Linked DNA regions of Homo sapiens: region 2 is linked to region 1. The links are contacts of gene promoters, found by promoter capture Hi-C in human tissues and cell types (Jung and others, 2019). All regions are on one chromosome and are shown on one strand. The core of a region is centred on a gene start or on the middle of the fragment in contact, and the rest is flanking DNA. Distances in the headings are between cores, read along the strand shown. Region 1 holds the start of RIN1 (Ras and Rab interactor 1). Region 2 has its middle 8.3 kb from the start of RNASEH2C.

What was found. Contacts are between HindIII fragments. The study calls those that stand out against the background at their distance.
Region 2: a fragment that was not itself captured here is called in contact with the fragment with the promoter of RIN1 in region 1 in 1 of the 25 tissues and cell types used here (dorsolateral prefrontal cortex).

The regions. Positions count from the first base shown.
Region 1 is chr11:66,333,550-66,337,683 of GRCh38, forward strand. RIN1 (Ras and Rab interactor 1) reads right to left here and starts at 2,885. Exons shown (of 10, transcript NM_004292.3): 1 at 2,768-2,885; 2 at 2,429-2,609; 3 at 2,213-2,327; 4 at 2,061-2,133; 5 at 1,858-1,949; 6 at 965-1,702; 7 at 370-675; 8 at 1-109. The coding sequence starts at 2,853. It overlaps BRMS1 (BRMS1 transcriptional repressor and anoikis regulator), which reads right to left. Exons shown (of 10, transcript NM_015399.4): 10 at 3,790-4,134. RefSeq lists an enhancer at 3,365-4,134. The HindIII fragment of the contact is 7,337 bases long and covers 828-4,134 here.
Region 2 is chr11:65,725,677-65,732,515 of GRCh38, forward strand. It overlaps the pseudogene KRT8P26. Among named protein-coding and RNA genes, the nearest start is that of RNASEH2C, 8.3 kb to the left of the region's middle. The HindIII fragment of the contact is 6,520 bases long and covers 1-6,247 here.

The sequences.
Region 1 (4,134 bases), core at 1,635-4,134:
TCCAGCAGCTCCGACATGTACTCGGCCTCCAGCAGCAGCTCAGGAAGGTCACAGTGGGCCAAGACGAGGCTCAGCAGAGGCAGGAACTCGTCGGCACCCGCGCCCTCCCCTGTGGGGACATGGTGAGAGGAAGAAGCTTCAGGTACAGTCCTTGCTTTAGGCAGTGACCCCTCCCCATGCCCTAGCAACCATTGAGGGGCTTCAGAAAGGATGCGCTCCTCTCTAGGCCTCAGTTTCGCCATCTGCAAGAGGGGAGGGTGGGCTCATTCTCTCCTGCAGGGCTGTTCTAGGGTCCTGGGGACCTGCCGCTGGGGGGCCCGCCTCTGACTCAAAGGGGCAGGGCAGGGTGAGGTGGTGGCAGGGACATACCTTCCTGGGTCCTCAGGGCCATGTAGAGCAGCTTGCAGGCCTGCAGGAGCCGCTTGACCTGGGCGCTGGGTGAGTAGGTGCGGAGCAGCTGCAGCAGCTTCTGGCGCACTTGCTCCAACTCTACTGGGGAGGGCAGGCTCAGGTGGGACCCGAAGGCTCCGGGGCCCTGGGCCCGGGCCAGGCGGAGGCCCTCAGCTAGGCGGCCCAGGGAGCCGTCTGCGGCAAGCCGGCGCCGCAGGCGGGCTGCCAGGATGGGCCGGAGAGGCTTGAGCACAGAGCAATGCAATGACTTCTCCAGGACATGTTCTGCCGGAGGGACAGGGAGGGGTCAGGGGAAGACTGGGGGTATGGGGGGCAGAGGCAAGGGGAGAAGGGAGCAGGGGTAGAATCGGGGAGGAGAGGCAAGGAAAGCAGGAGGAGGTAGCCTGGGTGAGACGGAAGAGTTGGGGGAGAGAGGGGATGGAACTCTCTCGAACAGTGGTAAGACAAGATGGATTTGTAAAGCAGCAGAACAGAATCAGACAGGCTGGCGCTGTGGAGGGGAGCAGAGGGTCGGATGGGGCAGTGCTGGAGCTATGGAGAGACGGAGCCTCACCCAGCCTCTTAGGCGACAGCAGCTTCTCAGGGCCCAGCTCCGCACTCAGCATGGCCCGGGCCCGGCTCAGCGCCTGACGGATGCCCTGCAGCTCCTGGGGCTCGGGCCCAGCCCGCACCTGGGTCAGTAGGTCCTGCACCAGCTGGCCCGCGGCTGTGTGTCGGTCCTGCATCAGTGCTGCCGCAGCCCGGCCCACCTGCCGCTCCGGTGCCAGTAGGGAGCAGAAGGCGGCGCTCATGGACCGAAGCAGAGGTCGTCGGCGGCCCAGGTGGGGTGAGGTCGCTGGGCTCCCCCGGGACCCTGGCACCCCCTCCTCCTCGGAGCTGCTGGGGGAGCCGCAGTCCACCTCTTGGAGGGAGGGCATAGGCGGAAGGCTAGGGCCACTGCCTGCTGGCACGCGGTACCCCACTGAGCTCTCCCTCCGTAGCAGCTGGCAAGGGGGCAGCCGCTCTGTCTGGCTGGGGACTGCCCCTGGCAGCACGGGGACGGGGGGAGGTGGCACGGCAGGTGGAGACAGGGGGCTGGAGGTCTCTGTGGACACGCGCACTTTGAAGCTTCTCTTGAATTTCTCCCGCTTGGTGGGCCCTAGGTCCCCCGGGAACAGGGGGTTGAAGAAGCACAAGGCGGCTCCGGTGCCCTGGTCCAGCTCTTGAGGGGACCGGGCCTTCAGCTGGGGCAACACTGGGCCTCCAGCCGGGCCCCGCTGAGCCTTGATGTTGAGGGAGGAGCTCCAGAACTCTAGGGAACAAGAAACCGACTGGGGCCTCCGGGACTGGTTAGGGGAAGTTTCCCAACCAAGGCAAGGCAGGGGCTTCGGGCGGTGTGCTGCGAGCCTTGCCTTCCCCTCGGCCTCAGCTTGTTCATCTGTGCAATGGGTGGCAGGAAGCCCTTACCAATGCCCAGATGGGAGATGGCCTCCAGCTCTTTGTGAGTGGCTGCGTGGTGGATGGCTCTGGGGAGCTGCAGCGGGAGGAGAAGGATGTCCCTGAGGCCAGAGAGGGGAGCAGAAGGGAGTGAGGGCCGAAGAGGGCGGGAAGGATGGGCTGTCCCAAGGAGCAGGGCCCGTGGACACCAGGCACCCTGCGGGCAGACTCACCGGGTGTGGCAGTAGGCACAGATGAGCTGGACTAGGTCTGGGAACATGAGCTCCGAGCCCTCCAAGGAGACGCCTGAGAGAGGAGGGAAGTGAGGTGCTTCTCTGGGGAACCTCCCTGCTTCCAGCCCCTTCCCGCCAGGCCAGCCCCTCACCGCCAGGGCTCTCCAGGATGTAGTGGCTGGAGACGAAGGAGGGGCCACTGGCTTCAGGCAACCGCATGCACAGGGCCTGGCACTGGCGGGTGTTAGATTTCCGCACGAGGAACGTCTGCAAGTGGATAGGGCTCAGGCAGCTCAGGACCTTGGCGTCCCATCCCTCTCCCTCCCACCCCTGGCTGGCCAGTCCCTGGAGTGTGGGGCAAGACTCACCCCCGGGGGCTCGGTCCTCAGCATGTGCAGTGCGGCCGCTGCGTTGGCTTGCAGCTGCAGCCACACGGGCCGGGTGAGCAGCAGGCGCTCCCGCAGGCTCACAACGCGCCCCGGCCGCTGCGGCCCGCCTGCCTGCCCGCCGCTGGCATTGGGCACGTCATACAGTGGGTCCTGGGCTGGCCTGGGGGCAGGCACCCAGATCTGAGCAGGGAGCCAGGGGCTGGGACCCTTGCTCTCCTCTTCCCCACTCCCGGGTTTCCCACTTTCTCTATCCCCGGATAGGCCCTCCTCTCGCAGCCCCTCCCTGCCCCACCTGGCTGCCCTGCCAACTTCACTAACTTTTCTCTCGCCAGGTGCCCAGTAGTGAAGCTGGACGGGCTGGGGGCTCCAGGAGAGCCCGCGCCTGACTCTCCAGGGCTTTCCATGGCTGGGAGCTCCTTCGCTTCAGGAAGAGAATCCAGTCCCAAGGCAAGGCACGCACATCCCCAGTGAGTAACACTTCCTGAGGGCGGTCCGCCTGTCACACCCGCCAGTTAACTCTTGTGTGTCCACCCTGCCTGGCCAGTGCCCGCCTCCTCTGTTCTGGACCCTGCTTTGGGGGTCAGGGGTCCCCTCCATGCTAGCCCTGCTCTGAGGGCCCCAGCTGGGGGATGCCACCTCCACACACGGCCTCCTGCAGCCTCACCAGCTACTCACATTGCACACGTGGGCGGGAAGTGGTTAAGCGGCCTCAGTCCCCACAGGCCCCAGCCATGCTCTGGGGGCACCTTTGGCTCTGTGGTCAGTTGCTCATCTGCCCCTGGCCTCAGGTCAGCCTTGTGGGAGAGCACCCTCTACTGTCCATAGATGACTCATTCCTGAACCTGGGTTTTAGGATTTTAGGTTGCCATGGAGAAAATATGCCATGTCTCCATGGAAACCAACCTATTTGCTTAACTGAGGTTCTGGGGGTGGTTCTGACACTCAGTGCTAACCAGGGGGAGTCTGGCTGTGAGGTCGTCAGCACATGGCGGTGCTGCCGGCTGCCTCCCACGCACGCAGGCTCTGCCAGCCTGCCTTGCCAATCTGCCAGGCAACTGGGACAGGTGCAGACATGACCCAGGCTCCAAGCACACGCATCCACCCTCCCCGCCGAGGCACTCTCCCGGTGCCATATGTTGACTCTGCCCAGCGCCAGGCAGCCCAGCGCCCACCTCCCCCTCCCCAGCCTGGCCCCACGCACAGTGCTCTAGCCTCTGCTGGGTAGTGTGAGGAGTGGCAATCTGCAGGCACCCTAGAAGTCGGCCTGGTTCAGGTGCTCCCCACGGGAGCCCTGATTCTCTTGCAAGGTAAATCACACACACACACAGGGCACGCCAGAGTCCCAGGAAAGGTTTTAATTCCAGTCCTTGGAATCTGAGAAGCAGACACCAAGAACTGCCCTGAGAACACCTGGGGGGCCTGGCATCTTGCCTCCAGATCCAGCCAGGGTGGACAGACCCCCAGATAATCACGTCTGACTCAGAGTTCCCGCACAGTGGAAACTGGCTCCCTGGCCCTGAGGCCGGACAGCCTGCATCCAACATCAGCAAGAGGATGTGGCTTTGACTTCGGCTGTCTTCTCTGTCAGGGGAGCCCCAAGAGATGGATCTTCAGGAGTGGGAGGTGGCAGGCGGCTCAGGGATGGAGACAGCAGCCTTGCCTGGTCAGGTCAGCTCCACGGCCAC
Region 2 (6,839 bases), core at 1,738-4,237, 610 kb before region 1:
GGTTTCACCGTGTTCGCCAGGATGGTCTCGATCTCCTGACCTCGTGATCCGCCCGCCTTGGCCTCCCAAAGTGCTGGGATTACAGGCGTGAGCCACCGCGCCCGGCCAGGAGGCTTAGTCTTAATAAAAACTTGGAAAGAAAGATTCCCCTGAGGATCAATTACAACCGAAATGACAGAGCCCCTATCAGGTGTTGTTGAGTATCCCCTCTGCTGCTAAACTTCAGGGAATAACTTGTTGGGTACACCTGTCTAGGATTAAACCTGTTTCTTATGAGTCACAGGCACAAAAGCAGGATACCACGACCTACATCTGTGAACCTTTGGAGGACCTCTGCTACCTATTTAAAAGAATCAATATTCAGCCATAAGTGGTAACGTGACGCCGTGGGTGGGAACATTTTTCTCTTCTTCCTGATTGTAATACTTCTTTTCTGTCGCTTTGGGCAACTACCTCCTCCCAGGAAACATCTCTTGTCCTTGTTGGGTGTAGAGGCCACTCTAAGGCCCAGGTGGATACCATGTGCCACTGTTAATCCTGTTGCTCTCCCAATTAACCTAATCCTGTGTAAGTGGGAACAAAACTTTATAGTAAATATTTCAAAAATTATAGCTTTAGGAAATCATCTTCATGGTTGCTGGATTTGTCATCAACATCCCCAGGATAGAGAATTTCACCTTCTGGCCGATCCAAAAACTCTCTTGGCTAACTCCCTAGCCCTCTTCACCATCCATAGCAATCTCAAAGTACCCAGACCCCGACCATTAGGTGGAAATTTCTGTCGTGCACTTGATGGATTCTACCTGAAATCCCCCACCACTATTGCCTGGACCTGGGAAGGCGTATGTCTAGATCTCCAGGGCACTCATGATTCTATCAAGGCATGTATCTAGATCTCTAGGGCACTCATGATTCTGTCAAGGCGTGTATCTAGATCTCCAGGGCACTAATGATTCTATCTTTTGCAACCACTGTTGTGTTAATGACACAAAAGTGGAAGTTTCCCCACAATGCTGTGACCCAACTGTAGTTGCCAAGTTCCCAAGGCCACAGCAAGATAAATAAGATTCCACTTGTGAGCAAGGAGACCATATACAGTGCCTTCTCCCAGAGCAGAACATACAGAGAAAAAAACAACTGCCTAATCTGGGAAGGTGAGATTACCGCCCCCTTCTGGAAAACAAGGGCTGACCTAGAGGAAGCTTCTCCATCCTTGAATCTACATCTGGTTCGGCCTGCCTACCTCCACTCCTGCCTCCATCGTGTCCATCACGGTGACCCAGAAGCCCTACAAGGCATCCATCTCTGGCCCCTGGGCCTTCAGCAGCCGCTCCTACACCAGTGGTCCCGGTGCCCACATCAGCTCCTTGAGCTTCTCCCAAGTGGGCAGCAGCAGCAGCTTCTGGAGTGGCCTAGGCACCAGCATGAGTCTGGGTGGTGGCTATGGTGGGGCAGTGGTATGGGGTGGGGGTGGGCGACACAGCCATCATGGTGAACCAGAGTCTGCTGAGCCCCCTTAAGCTGGACCTGGACCCCAATATCCAGGCTGTGCATACCCAGGAGAAGGAGCAGATCAAGACCCTCAACAAGTTTGCCTCCTTCATCGACAAGGTGCAGTTCCTGGAGCAGCAGAACAAATGCTGGAGACTAAGTGGAGCATCCTGCAGCAGCAGAAGACAGCTGGGAGCAACATGGACAGCGTGTTTGAGAGCCACATCCACAGCCTTGGGCAGCAGCTGGACACTGGGCCAGGAGAAGCTGAAGGTGGAGGCAGATCTTGGCAACACGCAGGGGCTGCTGGAAGACTTCAACGATAAGTACCAGGATGAGATCAACGAGCGGACAGAGATGGGGAATGAATTTGCCTTCATCGAGAAGGATGTGGATGGAGCTTACATGAACAAGGCAGTGCTGGAGTCTCACCTGGAAGGGCTGACTGACAAGATCAACTTCCCCAGAGAGCTGTGTGAAGAGGAGATCTGGAAGCTGCAGTCCCAGATCTCGGACACGTCTGTGTGCTGTCCATGGACAACAGCCACTCCCTGGACGTGGATGGCATCATCGCGGAGGTCAACGCCCAGTACGAGGAGATCGCCCACTGCGGCCAGGCAAGGCTAAGAGTCTGCACCAGGTCAAGGATGAGGAGTTGCAGACACTGGCTGGGAAGCACGGGGATGACCTGCGTCGCGGGAAGATGGAGAACTCTGAGATGATCCGCAACATCAGCGGGGTCCATGCTGAGATTGAGGGCCTCAGAGGCCATCGCGGATGCTGAGCAGCGTGGGGAGCTGGTGGAGCTGGAGGCTGCCCTGTAGCAGGCCAAGCAGGACCTGGCGCCGGCCAAGCAGGACCTGGCGCCGCAGCTGCTTAAGTAGACAGCTGAGCTCGGCCTCCCGGGGCCTCACAAGCCCTGGCCTCAGCTACGGCCTGGGCCCCAGCCTTGACTCTGGCAGGGATTTCAGCTCCTTCAGCCGCACCAGCTCCTCCAGGACCATGGTTGGGAAGCTGGTGTCCGAGTCCTCTGATGTCCTGCCCAAGCGAACAACTATGGCAGTCCCTCCCAGCCTACCCCCTCTTGCAGCTGCCCCAGAGCTTGTGGGGGAGGCTGCTGTGCAGGAAAGCGCAGGGAACAGGAGACCCACTTGAGGCTCAGCCCTCCTCCACAGCCCACTTGTGTGGGGTAACTCCCTTGCCCATGCCTCCATCACAAAACAATTCCACTGTTTTGTTTTGTTTTGTTTTGTTTTTTCAAGATAAAGCCTCAGCTAGCTCTGTCAACTGTCAAAAAGCAAAAAACAAACAAAACCCAGAAAACCCTACCAGGGTTGTTTGGTCCTCCCCGTTGGAATGGGGGGAGATATCTTGTATCTCCACAGACCCAACTTAGTGGCTAAAGATAGGCATCACACCTCACAGGGCCTCTATTGCACCCCAAATGGGTTCGTTTTCATTTGTGGTCATAAGTGGGAAGAAGTCACATCCCATAACCACTCCTAACTCCCCAGAGGACCTCCTGTTCTTTTAGGAGTAGCTTTCCTTTGTATATCAAAAACTTGGAACAGGGGTGAGTGTATGTTGGCCACCCTTTGGCCTTCCGGGGGTCACCATATAAAACCCTGTAAGACCGAGGAATACCAGAAATGAATGATCAATAGGATTAATTCTGACATGAACTGGAGTGGCATTAGAACTAGTGGCCCCCTGGGGTGGCTTTGCCTACCATGAGTTGGCCCTAAAGAACTGACTCAAACCCTGGAATCATTAGCCACCAACACAGGTCAGGCATTAAAAGGAATTCAGGGATTCCTAGACTCTTTGGCAAATGTAGTTCTTGATAAGAGACTAGCATTGGATTATTTACTAGCTGAACAAGGTGGAGGCTGTGCAGTTATGAATAAAACCTGGACAGGTTGAGATTAACATTCACACGATCTATCAGCAATCTATCTGGTCACATAGATGCTGGGTCACTGACTCCAGCTATATCTGCTCGATTATCAAAAATGCCCTCCCGGCCGGGCACAGTGGCTCATGTCTGTAATCCCAGCACTTGGGAGGCCGAGGCAAGTGAATTGCCTGAAGTCAGGAGTTCGAGACCAGCCTGGCCAACATGGTGAATCCCTGTGTCTACTAAAAATACAAAAATTAGACGTACGTGGTGGCGGGCGCCTGTAATCCCAGCTACTTGGGAGGCTGAGGCAGGAGAATTGCTTGAACCCGGGAGGCAGAGGTTGCAATGAGCTGAGATCGCGCCATTGAACTCCAGCCTGGGCAACAAGAGCAAGACTTCATCTCAAAAAAAAAAAAAAAAAACCCCTCCCAAGTCTCACTTGGTTCTTACCTCTCCTAGGACCTTTGATAGCTGTCTTGTTATTACTAATCTTTGGCCCTTGCTTTTTTAACCTCTTTTTTTTTTGAGATGGAGTTTTGCTCTTTGTTGCCCAGGCTAGAGTGCAATGGCACGATCTCAGCTCACTGCAACCTCCCCCTCCTGGGTTCAAACGATTCTCCTGCCTCAGCCTCCTGAGTAGCTGGGATTACAGGTGTGAGCCACCACACCTGGCTAATTTTTGAATTATTAGTAGAGATGGGGTTTCACCATGTTGTTTCACCATGGGCTGGTCTCGAACTCCTGACCTCAGGTGATCTGCCCACCTCGGCCTCCCAAAGTGCTGGAATTATAGGCATGAGCCACCACTCCCGGCCTGCTTGTTTAACCTCTTAATAAAGTTTGTGTCTTCTAGGTTACAACAGTTCCAGGTAAAGACAATGCTGGCACAAGGTTTCTAACCCATCCATCTTCTGACCTAGAGAATGAAAGCATCCTGCCTTTGGGCCGCCTTGGGTCAGGTATCTGGAGATTTTTACTCCTCTAGTGCTATGCAGGGCCTATTCCCATGAACTCAGCAGGGAGCAGTTACAGAACATGGACCTCCACCCTTTTGCAACCCCTTTCAGATTAAGGAGGAGTATCTGATCTCTGAGGGGAGAATGAGGTAGGAGGCAGGTGGGACTCGACTGTGGGCCAGGTTGAAGACTGGTTGAAACTGGGAAGAGTCTGTGTGTGGTGGCTCATGCCTGTAATGCCAGCACTTTGGGAGGCCGAGCCGGGTACATCACTTGAGGCCAGGAGTTCAAGACCAGCCTGGCCAATATGGTGAAACACCGTCTCTACTAAAAATATAAAAAATTATACAAAAATTAGCCAGGTGTGGTGGCGGGCGCCTGTAGTCCCAGATACTCAGGAGGCTGAGACAGGAGAATCACTTGAACCTGGGAGACGGAGGTTGCAGTGAGCTGAGATTTCATCACTGCACTCCAGCCTGGCTCCATTTCAAAAGAAAAGAAACTGGGAAGAGACACTGAAGGCACCTTTCCATAAGACATGCCCACTAACGCCATGACTGTTTACCATTGCCATGGCAACACCTGAAAGTTACTGCCCATTTTTGAGCTATTTTAAAATAACCGACCCCTTAATTAGCATACCATTAAGAGTGGGTATAAATATAACTGCAAAAGTGCCCCTAGGCTGCTACTCTCAGCACACTGCCTATGAGGTAGCCCTGCATGGCAGGAGCAGTCACGGAGCTGTGACGTTGCCACTGCTTCAATAAAGCTGTTTTCTTCTACCCCCGGCTTGCTCTTGAATTCCTTCCTGAGTGAAGCCAAGAATTTGCCCTGCCTCACCTTGAGATACCATAAACATTTTAGGATGGTTATTTAAGAAATGTCAGTGAAAAACATCATCATGACTTTGATAGGGATTGCATTGAATATGTAGATTGCTTTGGGTAGTATTCACATCTTAGCAATATTAACTCTTCCAATCCACAAACATGGGAAGTGTTTCCATTAATTTATGTCTTCTTTAATTTCTTTCAGCAATGTTTTGTAGTTTCTATTGTATAAGTCGTTTACCTGTTGGTTAATTCCTAAATATTTTATTTTATTTAATTATTTGATTTATTTTATTTTATTTTATTTTATTTTTTGAGATGGAGTTTCCCTCTTGTCGCCCAGGCTGGAGTGCAGTGGCACGATCTCGGCTCACTGCAACCTCCGCCTCCTGGGTTCAAGCGATTCTCCTGCCTCATTCTCCCGAGTAGCTGGGATCACAGGCGCCTGCCACCATGCCTGGCTAATTTTTGTATTTTTAGTAGAGACAGGGTTTTGCCATGTTGGCCAGGCTGGTCTTGAACTCCTGACCTCAGGTGATCCACCCGCCTCAGCCTCCCAAAGTGCTGGGATTACAGGCATAAGCTACCGCACCCGGCCAATATTTAATTCTTTTGAATGCATTGTAAATGGAATTGTTTTTAAATTTCCTTTTCAGATTGTTAGCACATAGAAATGCGACTTTTTATGTGTTTACGTTGTATGTGCTACTTTGTTGAAATCATTTATTAATTCTAACAGTTTTTTTTTTTTGATGTGTGGAACCTTTAGAATTTTCTACATAAAAGATCATATCAGGCCTGAGCCTGGTGGCTTATAACAGTAATCATAGCAAATTGGGAGGCTGGGGTGGGAGAATCACATGAGGCCAGGAGTTTAAGAATGCAGTGAGCCATGATTGTGCCACTGCACTCTAGCCTGGGTAATAGAGTAAGACCCCAACTAAAAAAAAAAGGATCAATGTAATCAGTGAACAGAGATGATTTTACTTCTTCCTTTCCAGTGTGGATGCCTTTTATTTCTTTTTCTTGCCTAATTGCTCTGGCTAGAATGTTCAGTGCTATGTTGAATGGAAATAGTGAAAGCAAGCATCCTTGCTTTGTTCCTGATATTAGAGGAAATGTTTTCAATGTTTCACCATTGAGTATGGTGTTCACTGTGGGTGTTTTATATATGGCTTTTTATTATGGTGAGGGTGTATACTTCTATTTCTAGTTTGTTGAGTGTTTATTTTTATCATGAAAAGGTGTTGAATTTTGTCAAATGCTTTTGCTGTTAGAAGGGGAAGGGTCTGTATACCGAAAACTATAAAACACTGATGAAAGAAATGGAAGGAGGCTGGGCACGGTGGCTCATGCCTGTAATCCCAACACTTTGCGAGGGCCAGGTGGGCGGATCACGAGGTCAGAAGTTCGAGACCAGCCTTTCTAATATGCTGAAACCCTGTCTCTACTAAAAATACAAAAAGTAGCCGGGCATGGTGGCGCATGCGTGTGGTCCTGGCTACTCAGGAGGCTGAGGCAGAAGAATCACTTGAACTCAGGAGGTGGAGGTTGCAGTGAGCTGAGATCGTGCCGCTGCACTCCAGCCTGGGTAACAGAGTGAAACTCCATCTCAAAAAAAAAAAAAAAAAGAAATGGAAGGAAACACATATAAATGCA